Regions from separate parts of the Homo sapiens genome. Here regions 1, 2, 4, 5 and 6 are each linked to region 3. The links are contacts of gene promoters, found by promoter capture Hi-C in human tissues and cell types (Jung and others, 2019). All regions are on one chromosome and are shown on one strand. The core of a region is centred on a gene start or on the middle of the fragment in contact, and the rest is flanking DNA. Distances in the headings are between cores, read along the strand shown. Region 1 overlaps RALY (RALY heterogeneous nuclear ribonucleoprotein). Region 2 has its middle 15 kb from the start of RALY. Region 3 holds the start of ACTL10 (actin like 10). Region 4 overlaps RALY (RALY heterogeneous nuclear ribonucleoprotein). Region 5 holds the start of LOC105372593 (a long non-coding RNA gene). Region 6 has its middle 51 kb from the start of CDK5RAP1.

Region 1 (3,056 bases), core at 26-2,525, 350 kb before region 3:
TCTGTGTGGCCTATACACCTGTATGCATGAGAAAACAGATCCATGAACATTCCTGACTCATCTAGCCCTGGCTTTGCCTGAAGGCTCCTACCACTCAAGGGCAAACCTATCTGCAGAAATTTCTCATTAAAATTGACATTTTGACAACTACGAAAAATAAAATGATAATGACACCCCCAGCACTGTGGGAGGTTAAAAAAAAAAAAGTCTATGCCAATAAAACACAAGAGACAGATGAGAAGCAATTATGCCTCAATTACTTCTCAGCTTCACAAGGGGAGGTGTTATTTGGAGTTAAACATTGTATGGCTGATTCACATCTCCACCCAAAGACTTGGATTTCTTGGGTTACCTAGGAAAAGTGCAAAAAAGAAGTAGGTAGAGAAAGGTAAATAAAGTTTTTTGCTTTTTTGTTTTTTTATGAAGGACTGGAGAAAGGGGGAGATTTAAAAAAAAAGGGGGAAATATTGAGAAGAAACAAAAAATAAAAGGCAAAAAGGACAAAAGAGGTAGGAAGAAGGGAAGGAAAGAATAGGAAGAAAAGTAAATATCCTTTAGGCTGGCCCACAGAGATTTAGCACACATTTGGCAGAAATTCTGAATAAGGGGGACAGGTGGATTAGTAGGTAGGGCCTGGCTTCCGTACTTCCTCATTACTTTTACTCCTACCATTCCTTCCATCTAGAATGTTCTTCCCACCATCTCTGCCAACTGAACTCCTGAATCTTTAAGGACAAGCTCAAATGCTACCAGCTTCTAGAAGCTTCCAAGATTTCTTCCAGTTAGTTCTCTCTCAAGAATTCCAGTAAATTTCCAGAGCACTTTGTCACATTTCTTTTTTTGACTTTGAAAAAATCTGATTTTATTTTCTGAATCATAAAGAAGTATTTCATGTTAAATTTAGACTGTTTAGCTTTCCACTGATATCTCAAGATACTTTCCAGATATTAACAGTACTCAGAACTGTGTAAAGGTTAACAACCAATACCATGTTTTAAAGAAAAAAGTTTAAATGTAAGACTAATGTCTTGGGGACATTACTAAATGTATTTCTAAGAAACCCTTCTCAAAGGTCAAAGTATTGGCAATTCTAATTTTAAAATTTTTAATTTTTAATTATTGGAAATTTAAGTAACAATAGTTTCAAGAGCTAAGAATCAGACTGCTTTTTAAAACAGAATTTTTTTTCCCTGAGGGATTCATACTTGACAACAACTCCAGTTAAACATAATACTCCACCCAAATCCCAAATTTAAATGCATTATTTCACCTTGGAATAGTAAAATTATAAAATGGAATTTCTAAATTATAATACATATACATAATCCACCACTTTAACTGTCACGTTTACCCGCAGAATTATGAAATCAAAAACAAACTCTACATTCAAGAGACAAATGATAAATGCTCTTTCATTGTTTTAAGCATCCATTCCATTCTTTGTTGTTTTCTACTCCCATATTTTAAAATTATGACCAAAGGACCAAAGGCCAAGTCAATCCCATTTCCCTGAATCCAACTGCCAGTAGGTACTGGCCCTACATACGCGTCCTTTAACAAGCCCCGTTCTCAAAAGGCTGGGGGTATTTATATAAGAACTTATTCCAAAGTGACTCTAAGATCCACGTTCCCAAGATCTAGTACGGGCTACTCATGTGTTCTGAGGCATGTCCAGCATGCACGCAAACTTAATCTGTTCAAATTGAGGTAAAACAGACAAAAAACACTTAATATTAACAGAAGCTACATAATTAAAACTAACCTTTTGCTGCTTATTTAAGCTAATTATGTATTCTTGCAAAACAGAGACCCTCAAGTCAATAATTTTTTATTTTAGTCACCCCCAAATTAAGCCTCTTCTTTAAAGCGCACTGTCATATTTCATCTGTAGCACTCAACACCAAACTATACTATAAGTATCAATGCATACACATTTCCATCATTCATTTTGTAAGTACTATTTGTGCCAAGCCTATTTCAGAGACACAAGGGAAATAGAGATAAGTAGCACACTATCCCCTGGCCTATACTGTCTCGATCCAATGAATGAGAGAGGATTTGGGTGTGACACAGCACTAGAGTACAACTACAGCAGTCCTAGAAGTCAAAGGGCCTGCTATAAATCCTGTATTTTATTTGATCAAAATTAATTCTGCTTCTGTAGTGATCAGGGAAAGCTTCCCTGAGGAAGTGGCATTGGAATTGATATGAAAGATAAACAGGAGTCTGTCAGGTAAAGGGGATAAGAAGATAAGGGGATTTCTACTTAGGGGAAATACAGATGCTGCTCAATTTACAACAGGGTTACATCCCAATAAGCCCCTTGTAAGCTGAAAATACTGTAAGTCGAAATGCCTTTTTTTTTTTTTTTTTTTTTTTGAGACAAGGTCTCGTTCTGATGCCTAAGCTGGAGTATAGTAACACAATCAAGGCTTACTACAGCCTCAACCTCCTAGGCTCAAGCGATCTTCCCACCCCAGCCTCCCAAGTAGCTGCTGAGACTACAGGAATGCCCCATTATGCGAGCTAGTTTTTTTTTTTATTTTGTTTGTTTGTTTGTTTTAAAAAAGAGATGAAGTCTATGTTGCCCAGGCTGGGAAAATGCATTTAATACACCTAACTTACCAAACACCCTAGTTTAGTTTAGCCTACCTTGAATATGCGCAGAACATTAACACTAGCCTTCAGGTGAGCAAAATCAACTAACACAAAGCCTATTTTATAATACAGTGTTGAATATCTCACATAATTTATTGAATACTTTACTGAAAGTGAAAACAGACTAGCTGTATGAGTAGTCCAAGTACCGTTTCTACTGAATGCATATCACTTTTGTAACCAACATAAAGTCAAAAAATCAGTAAGTCAAACTGTAAACCAGGGACTATCTGTAGTCAAAACAAAGTCATGATACAGCCTGGCACATCCAGGGAACCTTCTACTGGGCAGAAACACAGGGAAACAGTGGGTATTAAGCACTATGCTGCTGACAAAAGGCAGCAAAGTGATATGGCACCAGACTGCATGAGCCTTGCGGCCAAGGCCAGAGTTTAGAT
Region 2 (2,700 bases), core at 199-2,698, 310 kb before region 3:
TCTGGCCTAGGCCATGCAGCTTGTGATCGGGATATCCATGAGCTCTGAGCATCCCTGCATGTTCTTGCTGGTGCACCAGGAAGGCAAGACCCTGATTGCCCTTTACTCAGGCCATTTCTCAGGGTTGTGTTTGCAGAAAACAACCTTGAGGGATGAAGTCATGTCTTCAAAGGGAAGGTTTGTGACTGCTCACTGTAAAAGCAATAGTTTCTCTTAGCTCAGTATTCCTCTCCTGTGACACAACTCTGTGTGAGCAGGCCCACCTGCATCACATCCTCAGGACTTCAGAGGTTTGGGGAATCAGGGTAAGCCTGAAGTCAGCATCTACTTTCTCTGTAAGTAATACAGTTTCTTATCTCTGACCCAGGAGTCTATGTCTTCTGCCAGCATTCAGGAAATAATCTAGCTGATGAGTTTGTAAGTAGGGTAAAATCTCAGACCCTTCACAGTTCCTGATGTGGGTCACCTCCCATGAATGTTAACTGTCTCATGCACTGCACGGGAACTCTGTCTGCGAACTCCTTCAGAGAGAGGGTGTCCTGGGGCAACATGCAATGACAACCTGGGGAAGGGAACCTCATACATTCTCAAATGTAAAAGTTAGGAGAAACCTTTGTGATCAGAAGAAAGCTTAATGCAGTAATTCCTAGAAGGTGGGATATGTCCCTGGTGAGCCACAAGATGATTTAAAATGATATATGGGAAAGCATGATTTAAAATTTTCATAGCAATTGTTTCTACTATGCGTTACAAAAATACTCTTTTTTCTCCTTAAAGACATATTTAAACCAAAAGAATAGATTAACTTAAAAATATAAGTAAACAAGACTACAGTGTAAGACTGTGATTAACTGCGAGTAAGGACAAAAATGCTCTTTACAGTGATTTCAACCATAAGAACCAAATGTAATTATCTCATACAATTGAAAGTCCGTATGTTCCAGTTATCTATTGTGTATAACAAACCATCTGACTTAGTGATATAAAACAAAAACAACTGTATTCTGGTCACAGATTATGAGGATCAGGAATTCACACAGGGCACCATAGGGATAATTTATTTCTGCTCCATGATGTTTAGGGCCTTATTGAGGAAGACTCCCAGGGTTGAGGACTAGAATCATCTGAAGACTTCTGTGCTCACCTGTCTGGTGCCTGGGCTGGGATGACTCAAAGGTTGGGCACAGTGGGGACTGTAGATCACAATACCTACACATAGCTTCTCCGTGTGGCTTGGGCTTCCTCCTAGCATGACAGCCACAGGGTAGTTAAACTCCTTACATAGTGGCTCAGGAACCTGTGAGTAAGTATTTCAGTGAACAAGGCAGCAGCTGCATGGTATTTTACGACTCAGCCTCTGAAATCACACTGCATCATTTCTGCTATACTCTTTCTTGTTGTTGTTGTTGTTGTTGTTAATGAAGAAAAGATTTATTTAGTAATTACTACCTGCCCAGAAATTGTTCTGTGAATTTCACATACAACTCATCTAATCTTCACAATGATCCTATGAGGTATTTATGATTATCCTCATTATACAGAGGTGGAAAAGGAGGTATAGAGCCGTAAAGGTCATATTGTGCCACAGGTCACAATTAGCAAGTGGTAGAGCCAGGGTGTGAACATTAGGTAGGTGGGATTTCTGTTGTACTCTGTTGGTCAAAACAGAAGCCCATCCAGGTTCAAAAGGAAGGCACATGACACCACCCTTTTATGGGAAGAATGTCAAAAAATTTACTGGGCTAGCAAAAACTTAAATTTCCAAAAGACCTGCAGGTAGTGGCTTTAAATATATCTTTTTGTTGCCTCCGCCTCCTGAGTAGCTGAGATTACAATTTTTGTATTTTTAGTAGAGACGGGGTTTCACCATGTTGGCCAGGCTGGTCTCGAACTCCTGGCCTCAGGTGATCTGCCCTCCTCGGCCTCCCAAAGTGCTGGGATTACAGGTGCGCATCACTGCGCTCAGCCTTAAATATATCATTTTGAAAAAAAAGAAAATAGAGATTTCTATACTTAAGATGCTGCCTGATACCCTCACAAGTGTTCAGTAAACTTGCTTGTTATTATTACTTGAACTAAGTCTTTTTTTTTTACATGTATACCAATATAGAGAGAGACACAAGTATCATTGCACACAGATGCAATATCATACATACAATGCTGTTTCTTTTAAAAACTACAGTGTGGCTCTCTCTTCATATCTGTGTCTATAAAATTACTTCCTTTTAAAATATTTTTATTATGGAAAATTTCAAGTATATACAAAAGCAGAGGAAATAATATATCAAATTCCCATTTGCCCATCATCCAACTTCAGTGTTTATCAATTTATGGCTAGTCTCTACCTACACTCATTTCTTTATTCCCACATTATTTTGAAGCAAATCTCAGAAATCACATTTTTTCATTCATAAACATTTTAGTATGTGTCAGAGCTATCTTTCTTTTTTTAATGACAAAAGCAATACCTGGTTGTTACTTAAAAACACTAATGTTACAGACACAGATAACATGGAAAATAAATATTCCTTGCTATGGTTTGAATGTCCCTTCCAAAACTCATGTTGAAATTTATTTACCAATGTGATGGTATTGGGTAGTGGGGCCTTTAAGAGGTGACTAGGTCATGAGGGCTTGAGGGAGTGGGTTAATTTTCATGGGAGTGGGCTCCTGATAAAAGAAAGAGTTTAGCCCGATATC
Region 3 (2,809 bases), core at 218-2,717:
CAAAATGAGGGTCCCATGGGTCCCAAATACCTTCTCCTGGCCCAGAAAGGGTATGGGGGTGACCCATCCAGTCAGCTCCAACCTCCAGGAGGACCCTGCCAGCTCCAAACACTTGACTCTTTAGATAGAGAGCTGTCCCCCAACGCAGTGCCACCCCCCCCAGTCCAGCCTGACTCAGTTGAACACATCGTACAGCAGCCTGGAGCCACACTCCTGGTACATGGCCCGAGTTATCCAGCGGCGCTGGAAGGAGTGCAGGGAGGCCACCATGGAGCCGCCGGTCCACACAGCCATGCCACGCCCATGCTTGGCCACCAGGTGGGGCCGCAGGGCCGCGTAGCCGTGCCGCCGGCACTGCGCCTCCAGCTCCTTGTCCAGGCGCTCGGCGAAGCCAGGAAACAGTGTGGAGCCGCCGGCTAGCACCACGGTGTCTGCCAGGCGTGTCCGCAGCGTTTTGGGCATCTTCTGCAGCGCCCGGAAGGCCAGCGCGGGCAGCCCCTGCTCAGCCTGGCCCAGCAGGCCCGGCTGGAAGATGGGTTCGGGGCAGCGGAAGCGCTCACTGCTGAGGCAGACGCAGCACCCGTTACCCACGCTGAAACTGGCCGGATGGTGGCGGGCGGGGTCGCGGAGGTCGCCCTCGAAGTCCAGGGACACGTAGCAGCTGCGCTTCTTGAGATGTGTGATGGCCTTGCGGGGCAGGGCCTGCTGCAAGAGGTCAGGGTTCGCCGCCACCAGCAGATCCCGCAGGTAGCGCGACAGGGTGCTGCCTGCCACGTTCAGTCGGAAGGTGGCCTGGTGCCACGAGTGACCCGCGTAGATGGGCGTGGCGTGGCACACGCCCGCGCCCGCCTCCACGGCCAGCCCGCTGAACGCGCCGGTGGAGCAGAGCGCCAGCAACGCGGTGCTAGCCATGTGGCACGCGGGCACTGCCAGGGTCTCGAACAGCAGCTCCGCCACCCTTTCGCGGCCCGCGGGCGGCGCCAACGGCGAGTCGCTCACCAGCACGGGCCACTGCTCTGGGCACACCCGCAGGCCGCCCACCAGCAGGCGCTCCCACAGCCCTTCCAGCGCCTCCCAGTCCGCCACCACGCCGTGCTTGATGGGGTGCGCCCGCGCCACGCCGCCCGCCAGCTCGCAGCCCGGCGCTCCGGGCAGCACCGGCCGGTCCCAGCTGGGCACCAAGCTAGAGCTCTTCAGCACTATGCGCGGCTGGTTCTCGCCCGCGAAGCCCGCCTTGGTGAAGCCCGAGCCCTGGTCCACCACCACCGCGATGCGGCCCAGGGAGGACGGCCGGTGCACGCGGCGGCTCCCCGACACCGACGCCACCTTCGGGCTCGGCCCAGCCGCGGGGCTGAAGGCTCCGCTCCTCCGCGCCACTCGGCTTCGTCGGCCCGATACCTCCCGGCCTCTGTCCTAGGGAGTAGTCCCCTTCAGCCTTTGGCTCTGCCTCCGGAGCCTAAGTTCTTCCTCTTCTGGACCAAATCACCACCCTTTTCAGCTCTTGGCTCCGCCCTCTGGTCTGAAAGCCCCGCCTCTTCTGTCCGGGCCATCCGCCTCCTTTTCAGCTCGTGGCTAGTTCCTAGGCCTGAGGCCCGGCCCCTAGTTCAGGCTTCAGTCTCCGCTCTGGCTGGGTTCCAGCCGCATCTCACCCTCTTGGTCTCCCTCTGGCGCCGGGCTTCAGGCTCCACGCTCTCAGGACCCGCCTCTGCTTTGCTGTTCCGCCCCGTCAGCCCTTGCTGAGATGGCTGACGAGATGGCTAGGACTGATCCTTTTAGATCCTAAGAAGCCCCCGGGAGGAGCAGAACTTTGAGGGCGAAGGGGCCTTGTGGTAAGGCCATTTGGACATATATCCCCCTTGAGGACCCAGGCAGCCTCCTGGCACCTCTCACCTGGGCTTGACGGAAGTTCCTGGTTGTGGAGAGGGGAGGGGCTGGTCAGAAGGCAGAAAAGAACTTGGATTGGGCTCATTGTGACCTCACTCCCCAGCAGCTGCACTTCGCAGCTCCCTACCTTATGACAACTCCCTGGACCCATCCTCTCTTCTGGACAGAGCCAAGGGCAGTGATTTTGGCATCCAGGGGTCTGGCTTCAGCAGCCCAGCACAGTCTGATTCCTTTCCCAAACCACTTAGAATTATCTGATGTACTCTGTCCAGATGTGTGGCCCCCTACCCCTCCCAGTGCTGAAGAAAAAGCTTTTTCATCACAGATCTGCAGCTTCCCTGAAGAGCCCCCGAGAGGCTCTGGCCCTACCTTTATGGGCTTCCACGGATGGATTCACGTGGGCCTCAGTTTGAGACTCAGTTCTTTTTTTTATTATTATTATTTTTGAGACGGAGTCTCGGTCACCCAGGCTGGGCGTGCAGCGTTGCAATCTCAGCTCAGTGCAACCTCTGCCTTCCGAGTTCAAGTGATTCTCCTGCCTCAGCCTCCTGAGTAGCTGGGACTACAGGCATGCACCACCATACGCGGCTAATTTTTGTATTTTTAGTGGAGACAGGGTTTCGCCACGTTGGCCAGGCTGGTCTCGAACTCCTGACCTCAGGTGATCCACCTGCCTTGGACTCCCAAAGTGCTAGGATTACAGGTGTGAGCCACCGCACCCAGCAAGACTCAGTTCTGAAGCTGACTCACTGTGCAGTCCTAAGCAAGTCTTGATCTTTCTCTGGGTTCGGTTTTCTCCTCCAAAAGGTAGTAATAATCCCCCCACACAGGAAAGAGGTCACTTCTTGTCTCTGCAAAGCCTCATCCTCCTGAGGACCAGTTTGGTTGCAGGTAGAAGACTCAGGTGAATGTAACCCAAAATAAG
Region 4 (3,085 bases), core at 412-2,911, 390 kb before region 3:
TCACAGCCCCAAAGGCTTGACCCTATAAGACAGCATATGCATCAACATATATCTTAAATTTCCCACATTCAGACAGGGGAAGGAAGGAACGGGTGACCTCTCTCCAGGGTGCTGATCCAAACATAACTTAGGGCTCTAAGCATCATCTCCCACAGTGTCACATGTTTGGTCTACAGGGGACCACTGAGAATGATGCCACAGTTGTAGCCACTCTGCCTTTGTCTCCCTGGTAACAACATTAACTCCACAAACATTACTAAGCATCTGCTTCCTGTGTGATCAATCAAGTGTGCCCCTGCCACCTCCTGTTTAAAATCCTTCAAGGGCTTCCCACCATAAAGAATCAAGTTCAAATCCTTTAATGTGGCTTACAAGACTCTTCATGAGTTAAGGCTACCAAATCTATACACAACAATCCTCTGAGTGGTTATATGTCATTCACTTTATAAATGAGTAAACCCTAGTGGGTTTAAATCCAGGATCAGCACTTACTAGTTGTGTGACCTTGGACATCTCATTAAACTCATTGAGCCAATGTTCTCTATTAGGCAAACCCTAGTGCAGAGAGTAAACCCTAGCGCAGAGAACATGCCTAAGGTCAGAGAGTGAACATGTCAATGTGAAATGGGTTCTTCCGAAGGGATGAGTATCATACTCCAAAGGATAGACTCAAGTTCAAAATCACCTTTTCTTGGATTAGTCATTGAGAAGTATGGGGATAGGGCATTGTATGGTTCAGGTGAACCGTTCCTTTCAGAGAGCAGCTTAGACACTGTCCCTTGTTTGAAGCTGCCACCCTGACCCCTCTCTCACTCCCACAGCAGCAGCATCATTAATAAACTTGGTGTAATGAACAAAATGTTCATTAGCATGTAATACGGTATACATATGCACGCTTATGTCCAAGATGCCCTGCTACCATAAGCTAAGCATCAAACGAAAGCCAACCAATGAACCCCTGCAACTTCACAAAAAACAGCCCTCAAAACGACAGGTATAACACACCCAATGCCTAGTGAACTTCTAAACTCATCAATTCAACTGATCATGACAGAAGCAGCTTTGGTATCTATGGTCTTTCCCCCTTGTCATTGTCTTAGAAAGAATTAACCCTTCCCGGCCCCCTTCCCCTCAAAAAGGAGGCACTACACTAAACAAGCTTCTACACTGCAACTGGTTAAAAGAAAAAAAAAAAGTTTCTCCAAAACTGTAATAGGTGTCTCAGCTGCAGGAGAAAGGGCATGGCTTTGGACAGAGACAGAACAAGGTTTAAATCCAGGATCAGCCACTTACTAGCTGTGTGACCTTGGACATCTCATTAAACTCCATGAACCAATGTTCTCTATTAGGCATATACATTTCCCCCACATACTGTTATTCACCACGCCCTCCTCATTTGGCCTCAATATTTTTAGAATGTAGCCCCCCTCTCTCCATTCTTATTACCATTCTTTAAATAATCCTCTACTGTCACCACAGCAATATTACCATATCATTTCTTTGTTTAAAATGGGTAAGATCAGAGGTTGTTTTTTTTTTTTTTTTTTTGAGACGGAGTCTCGCTCTGTCGCCCAGGCTGGAGTGCAGTGGCGCCATCTCGGCTCACTGTAAGCTCCGCCTCCCAGGTTCATGCCATTCTCCTGCCTCAGCCTCCAGAGTAGCTGGGACTACAGGCGCCCGCCACCATGCCCAGCTAATTTTTTGTATTTTCAGTAGAGACAGGGTTTCACCGTGTTAGCCAGGATGGTCTCGATCTCCTGACCTCGTGATCCGCCCGCCTCAGCCTCCCAAAGTGCTGGGATTACAGGCGTGAGCCACCACACCTGGCTGGTTTATTATTTTAAAATTCTTAACCAATAATTTGGGTAAGAATTTGTGCTATTATATTGAGTATGTTTATTATATGAAATTACCATATGAAATCATCTAACCCCCACCCCTCTATGGGACATAACTGTTAGCATGTTCATGTATTTCCTTCCAGTGTTTTTCTTGCACATTATGTTTGGATTACATGGTTAGATAACTCAACTCTGTAGCCTAATTTTTTCAATTAGCATTATAACACATTTATTATATATATTATAGCATATTTGTCCTTACTGCCGCATAGTTTTCGGTAAGCATCATTTTTTACACTACTGCTTTAAAAGCTCGTGGTTTTCCCTGAGTAGATTTATCATAGTTTAGATTGGTGGTCTTTTAGGCTTTTTCCAATTTCTCACTATTATAAACAATAGCATCTGAGGGAAAGCTTATTGTATAAACTAGACTATTTCCTTAGGACAGACTCCCAGAAGTGGAATGACTGGTCAAATATATGAACATTTTATTGGCTCTGGCAACACATTGCTTAACTGCTTTCCAAAAGAGTTACACCAATTTACACTGTTATCTCCAATGAATGCCACTTTCATGGCAACCTCGCAGCACCATGTATTACCATATTGGGCAGGTGGTGGGGTAGGGAGAGTAGAGGTGAATTAGTAGGGAAAATCAAATCCTCATTACTGTTTTCATGTACATGTGAAGATGTATAGTCTACTGTGTTTACTAGCTTTTGAGTCTACAAAGTTTTGAGTGCCATGAAGTTACTGTAGGTTCCTAGGTAGAGGAATAACATGCTAAAAAGATTTACTCATTTATCAAAAAATCATTTATTGTTCACCTATTACTGCCAGACACTGTATAAAACTACAGAGGTTAATAAAGTACAATCTCCCCCCTGGAAGAATTTATAGTCCAGTCAGTGGTGAAAACCTCAAGAAAACCAGAACCTATGTTTCATCTTGATGAGGTCTATGACAGGAGCAACTAGGAACTTGGAGGCATGTCAATTACCTAAGGGACAGAAAGAAAGGGAGACGACTCAGACAAGAAGAGTCAACAGTAAGTTCCAATCTTGTCCTGAAGGATGAGTTGAAGTTAACCCACACACAGGTAAGAGAGTACATTTAAGAGGAAATAGCATAAGGAAAGTTACAGAAGTTTGACAGAGATCCCACATTTAATGAATAATATGATGTATTGTGGTTTGCCCAGAGTCTAGGATGTAACAAGAAATGATGCCGATGATACTAGAGTG
Region 5 (3,004 bases), core at 267-2,766, 410 kb after region 3:
TGCCTGCATTTCCAAATTCTTTTTGCACCAAAATAAACTTGAACTAATTTGTTATAACATGTTGAACGGGATCTAGTTTGAGGCAATAAGAAGGATAAGACATCACTTAGAAAAAAACCCTATCAAAGCCACATGAATCCTGCTAAAATTGAAGCAAGAATACACATCAAATTTATGGTGAAACTTGGATGGGTGAATGGTGAAATCATTGAGGCTTTATGAAAAGTTTATGGAGCCAATGCCCTAAAGAAATCAGCAATTTACAAATGGATAGCTTTTTTTTTTTTTTTTTTTTTTTTTTTTTGAGACAGGGTCTCACTCTGTCACCTAGGCTGGAGTGCAGTGGTGCAATCTTGGCTCACTGCAAACTCCGCCTCCTGGGTTCAAGCAATTCTCATGCCTCAGCTTCCTGAGTAGCTAGGACCACGCCCAGCTAATTTTTGTATTTTCAGTAGAGACGAGGTTTCATTATGTTGCCCAGGCTGGTCTCAAACTCCTGAGCTCAAAGCGATCAACCCACCTCAGCCTCCCAAAGTGCTGGGATTACAGGTGAGAGCCACTGTGCCCAGCCATGGATAACTTGTTTTAAGAACAAGAGAGAGCAGGGGCAAGACTGAGTGTGTACCGTTATTTATCCCAAGTGAGTGCCATTTGCTTCTGAGCTTGTTACCTTGAGTATTGAAAAGAACACATTTTCCAGATTAAAAGCTCCATAGTAAGTACCTAAGGCTGCATTGGGCTGTTCCAGTAAAGATACTACAACAGTCAACGCACTGTGTTAAATTTCTGGAGGTCCACCCTCATCTGCCGTAATCCAGCTCGTTTTACAAACGGGAGAGTGGAAATGGATGGAGTAAGCCGTTCCACTCTGTATTTCCTACTGAATGAAACAAAAACCCTGGACACAGTGAATGAGAAAGCTCTCTGAGGGTTCTGAAAACAATAGTGGCAGGGACATTGGGAAGGAAGTCATAATTTAAAGTATGAATGATCTATAAGTGAGTTTCCTGGGTTTTTATTCCTTTTATATTTTTCAGAATTTATCTGCATCACAAACTTGAGCTTTAAACAAATAAAAATTCATATCTTCTTCCTGCTTTATAATGGCATGTCTTGACCTTTGATACCTATCAAATCATCCCTCAGGCAGACAATGAGAATTCGGATCCTCTTCCTAACTTCATTCAAGTTGTTGTGTAAACCAATATCTGTTCCTCTTCATTGCCCAGTAGTATTCTGTGGTATAGATGTACTGAAGTTTGTTTATTCACCTAATGAAAGGCATTTGGGTTGTTTCCAGTTTTGGGATATTATGAACAAATTTGCTATAAACATTAAGGAACACGGCCAGGCGCATTGGCTCACGCTTGTAATCCCAGCACTTTAGGAGGCCAAGGTGGGTAGATCACTTGAGGTCAGGAGTTTAAGACCAGCCTGGCCAACATAGTGAAACCCTGTCTCTACTAAAAATACAGAAGAAGTAGCTGGCTATGGTCACGTGCATCTGTAATTCCAGCTACTCGGGAGGCTGAGGCATGAGAATCACTTGAACCTGGGAGGCGGAGGTTGCAGTGAGCCAAGATCATGCCACTGCACTCTAGCCTGGGCAACAGAATGAGACTCTGACACACACACGCAAAACCAAATGCCCCCCCCCCGCCCCCCGCCGCCAAAAAAAAATCCCCAAACATGAAGGAACAGGTTTTGTTGTGAGCATATTTCATTCCTCTAGCCTAAAAATCTAGAAGTAGGGTTGCTGGGTCATATGTTAAGTGTATGTTTAACATTTTTTTCCAAGTATACATTGTGATTAATTTTTATGAAGTTGAAGAAATGGCTAAAATAATGTATGTTACTAGAAATCAAAACAGGGGCTGCATATGGTAGAGTGAGTGGGTATTGGTTAAAACGTTACAAGGAGTTTTTTTTTGTTTTCTTTGTGACAGAGTCTCACTGTGTCACCCAGGCTGGAGTGCAGTGGTGCAATCTCAGCTCACTGCAGCGTCTGCCTCCCAGGTTCAAGTGATTCTTGTGCCTCAGCCTCCCGAGTAGCTGGGACTACAGGTGTTTGCCACCATGCTTGGCTAATTTTTGTATTTTTAGCAGTGATGGGGTTTTGCCATGTTGGCCAGGCTGGTCTTGAACTCCTGACCTCAAGTGACCTGCCCACCTCGGCCTCCCAAAGCGCTGGGACTGCAAGCATGCGCCACAGCACCTGGCCACAAGGAAATATTTTATGTGTTAATAGACATGATCTATATATTGATAAGGCTGTGGTATACTATAAGGAATATAAAGTTTAAAACTCTATAAAGCCATGCATTTAACATGTGCACATTTTACTACATTTTAATTTTATATAGTTACAAAAACAGTGAGAAAGGAAAAGAAGAATGATCATTAGCAGTAATGGACAAAACATATTTTATTTATAAATTTTCTTCTTTCCTTTCCTTTCCTTTTTTTTTTTTTTTTTTTGAGACAAAGTTTCACTGTTGTCACCCAGGCTGGAGTGCAATGGTGTGATTTCAGCTCACTGCAACTGAGGAATTCCGCTTCCTGAGTTCAAGCGATTCTTCTGCCTCAGCCTCCCGAGTAGCTGGGATTACAGGTGCCCACCACCACGCCTGGCTAATTTTTGTATTTTTAGTAAAGACGTGATTTCACCATGTTGGCCAGGCTGGTCTCGAACTCCTGACCTCAGGTGATCCACCCGCCTTGGCCTCCCAAAATGCTGGGATTACAGGCATGAGCCACTGCGCCTGACCTAAATTTTCTTTTCTAACTGACCATAAAAGAGACCAATCCAGGCTTCCAGTTAATAGCTGGGTTCCATTTGGAATGCTGGGGTGTTCTTTGGTTTTTGCTATGCTATGGCTGTGGGATCCATGGTTGCTGGGCAGAGGCCTATGGTGGCTGCAGTGCCATGCAGGGGCTGTGATCTTCTGCGGAGCTGGGCCCTAGGCTGACCCTCGGGAAGCTGGGCGAGGTGATAGTGGAGCTG
Region 6 (2,821 bases), core at 14-2,513, 320 kb after region 3:
TGGCCCTTGTTTAAGTGTTTCTACCAGTAAGGTGTGTGTGTGTGTGTGTGTGTGTGTATCTGTGTCACTTTTTTTTTTTTTTGAGACAGAGTCTCACTCTGTTGCCAGGCTGGAGTGCAGCGGTGCAATCTCGGCTCACTGCAACCTCTGCCTCCTCCTATCCAAGTGATCCTTCCACCTCAGCCTCCCTAGCAGCTAGGACTACAGGCACATGCCACCATGCCTGGCTGATTTTTGGATTTTTTGTAGGGACAGGATTTTGTCATGTTGCTCAGGCTGGTTTCCAACTCCTGGATTCAAGCGACCCACTCACCTTGGCCTCCCAAAGTGCTGGGATTCTAGGTGTGAGCCACCTCGCCTGGCCAACAGTCACATTCCTTACCTTCCTGTACATGCGCTGTCAGCCTGGCAGGCCCTCATTCCTTCCCACATTCCAAAGCCCATCTTGTCTGTAATTTCCTTTCATGGATATTCTGACCTTCATTGGTTAATATGCATTTCCCCCTGCTTATGAAATGCAAACTCCACAGAGCAGGAAAGTTAGAAGTTTCAGCAAAGTAAACTTTGCTATTGTTAGTTTAAAAACCAACAATAGCTGGGCATGGTGGTGCACACGTGTAATCCCAGCACTTTGGGAGGCCGAGGCATGCAGATCATTTGAGGTCAGGAGTTTGAGACCAGCCTGATGAACATGGAGAAACCCCATCTTTACTACAACAACAGAGAAATTAGCCAGGTGTGGTGGTGTGCACCTGTAGTCCCAGCTACTCGGGAGGCTGAGGCAGAAAAATCATTTGAATCCAGGAGGCAGAGGTTGCAGTGAGCCAAGATCACGCCACTGCACTCCAGCCTGGGCGACAGAATGAGACTCCATCTCAAAATAAAATAAAATAAAACTAACAATAGCTGGGCGTGGTGGCTCACACCTGTAATCCCAGCACTTTGGGAGGCCCAGGCAGGAGGATTGCTTGAGCCCAGGAGTTTGAGAGCAGCCTGAGCAACATAGCAAGACCTGGTCTCCACAAAAAATTAAAAAAAAAAAAAGAAGTTAGCTGAGCACCTTGGCACACACCTGTGGTCCCAACTACTTGAGAGGCTGAGGTGGGAGGATCACCTGAACCTAGGAGATCCAGGCTGCAGTGAGCTGTGATTGTGCCTCTGCACTCCAGCCCCGGTGACAGAGTGAGACCTTGTCTCAAAAACAAAACAAAAAAAAAACAACTTCACAAGCATTTCTGTATACCATTATAAATGTTGTCAGCATTTCTAATCTTGTACTTGGTTTAATTATTTGCTTTTTGTTTCAGGTTTTTTGTTTTTTAAATTCCCATCATGAATACCCCTATGTCTTTGTGTTTAAATGTATCTGTACTTAGGTTTTTTGGACAGATTCCTGTAAGTGAAACTAACTGAGTCTAAAACCTTGCCTCTTTCAGCACTTTTCATGACCTAGTTTTGCCTTCCCTAGTGGCTTAGTGGGGTGGGTGGGGTGAGTGGGTCCTGTCATTTTCTTTTTTTTTTTTTTTTTGAGATGGAGTCTCGCTCTGTCACCGAGACTGGAGTGCAGTGGCGTGATCTCGGCTCACTGCAACCTCCGCCTCCCAGGTTCACGCCATTCTCCTGCCTCAGCCTCCCGAGTAGCTGGGACTACAGGCGCCCGCCACCACGCCCAGCTATTTTTTTGTATTTTTAGTAGAGACGGGGTTTCACTGTGTTATCCAGGATGGGCTCGATCTCCTGACCTCGTAATCCGCCCGCCTAGGCCTCCCCAAGTGCTGGGATTACAGGCGTGAGCCACCACACCCAGCCCGTCAACATTTTTGTTCACATTATTGGAGGATGAGGCTCCCTGGACCATTCTCTTGCCTTGCCCACCTGTACTTGGGGAGAGGGGCAGCTGTGTGCAGTGCCCGCTTTGCCCCATCCTCACCCATGCTGCTGTCCTCTCTGTTGTCTCTACCTGGTCTTTGCTCACTGGATGTTACAACCCTGGGGCAGGGGGACCCAGTGGACTGCTGTGTGCACAGACTCACCCTTTTCCACCTATGAAGGCCGTAGTCGTGGCTTGGACATGGATCCCATCGCCTGTCGTGGTTGACTTCATGCTCTCCACAGTTACTTTTTCAACCTGTAATCTGCAAAGCGAAAGCATCAAGAGTCAGTCCTGTTTCAACGAATCAGCCTGGACAGCAGGAGAAATGCCTTTGAAGCAGATAATTAACAGCCTACCAAGCCACCATCCAGTCCCTTGACCCCTCAGCTGTCTAATGTGCCCAGGCCTATAAGCTCAAAAATCTTGATCCTGTTTCCCCCTGAAAGGATATAGGCACAGCATAGAGCGAGAATATTTCTGGTGAAATATATCAATCTCAAGCAATATACCCATCCCAATCCGTGGGACTGTTGGAAGTTGAACATGAGCATCCAAATCAGCAGGTTTCTGGTGGAGAAGTCATACATAGGGTCAAGGAAGCACTTACCCCAGCAAGAGCTGTTCCAGGTCAGCATTTTTCAGCAGGTCTGGGAGTGCATCGCTGATGCCTGAGGGCAGGGTGCTGTTCAGCACGCCCTGAGCAGACTCTTTGAGGTCTTGGACTTTGTCGGTCACATCCTTCAGAGGCCGCTGGAGAGTGGAGAGACCAGTGCCACCGAGGAGTCCTTTTACAGGGTTCTTGTCTGAACCAGTGGGTAGTAGGCTCACCAGACCCTCCGTCCCCTGGGGTAGCAGACCACTGACAGCACCAGTGAGTTCTGAGAGCAATGGAAGTTTCGAGGACTTGCCGCCACTTCCCTCACCTAGGATACCACTGAGGCTGGCACC

Evidence for each region. The method cuts DNA at HindIII sites, captures the fragments that hold promoters and counts their contacts. A contact is called where the count stands out against the background at its distance.
Region 1: a contact is called between a fragment that was not itself captured here and the fragment with the promoter of ACTL10 in region 3, in 2 of the 25 tissues and cell types used here (hippocampus and lymphoblastoid cells).
Region 2: a contact is called between a fragment that was not itself captured here and the fragment with the promoter of ACTL10 in region 3, in 1 of the 25 tissues and cell types used here (mesenchymal stem cells).
Region 4: a contact is called between a fragment that was not itself captured here and the fragment with the promoter of ACTL10 in region 3, in 1 of the 25 tissues and cell types used here (mesenchymal stem cells).
Region 5: a fragment that was not itself captured here is called in contact with the fragment with the promoter of ACTL10 in region 3 in 1 of the 25 tissues and cell types used here (bladder).
Region 6: a contact is called between a fragment that was not itself captured here and the fragment with the promoter of ACTL10 in region 3, in 1 of the 25 tissues and cell types used here (spleen).

Annotation. Positions count from the first base shown.
Region 1 is chr20:34,012,737-34,015,792 of GRCh38, reverse strand. All of the region lies in intron 1 of RALY (RALY heterogeneous nuclear ribonucleoprotein), which reads right to left. Among named protein-coding and RNA genes, the nearest start is that of RALY-AS1, 20 kb to the right of the region's middle. The HindIII fragment of the contact is 5,750 bases long and covers 1-3,056 here.
Region 2 is chr20:33,977,817-33,980,516 of GRCh38, reverse strand. No RefSeq gene overlaps it. Among named protein-coding and RNA genes, the nearest start is that of RALY, 15 kb to the left of the region's middle. The HindIII fragment of the contact is 3,268 bases long and covers 1-2,700 here.
Region 3 is chr20:33,665,601-33,668,409 of GRCh38, reverse strand. It overlaps ACTL10 (actin like 10), which reads right to left and starts at 1,467. Exons shown (of 1, transcript NM_001024675.2): 1 at 1-1,467. The coding sequence starts at 912. The coding sequence ends at 175. All of the region lies in intron 5 of NECAB3 (N-terminal EF-hand calcium binding protein 3), which reads left to right. RefSeq lists enhancers at 665-744, 1,555-1,774 and a silencer at 1,095-1,424. The HindIII fragment of the contact is 10,203 bases long and covers 1-2,809 here.
Region 4 is chr20:34,056,130-34,059,214 of GRCh38, reverse strand. All of the region lies in intron 2 of RALY (RALY heterogeneous nuclear ribonucleoprotein), which reads right to left. Among named protein-coding and RNA genes, the nearest start is that of MIR4755, 8.6 kb to the right of the region's middle. The HindIII fragment of the contact is 3,702 bases long and covers 1-3,085 here.
Region 5 is chr20:33,257,437-33,260,440 of GRCh38, reverse strand. LOC105372593 (a long non-coding RNA gene) reads left to right here and starts at 2,945. Exons shown (of 3, transcript XR_936683.2): 1 at 2,945-3,004. The HindIII fragment of the contact is 7,894 bases long and covers 1-3,004 here.
Region 6 is chr20:33,349,480-33,352,300 of GRCh38, reverse strand. It overlaps the pseudogene BPIFB9P. Among named protein-coding and RNA genes, the nearest start is that of CDK5RAP1, 51 kb to the left of the region's middle. RefSeq lists an enhancer at 2,243-2,821. The HindIII fragment of the contact is 4,703 bases long and covers 1-2,821 here.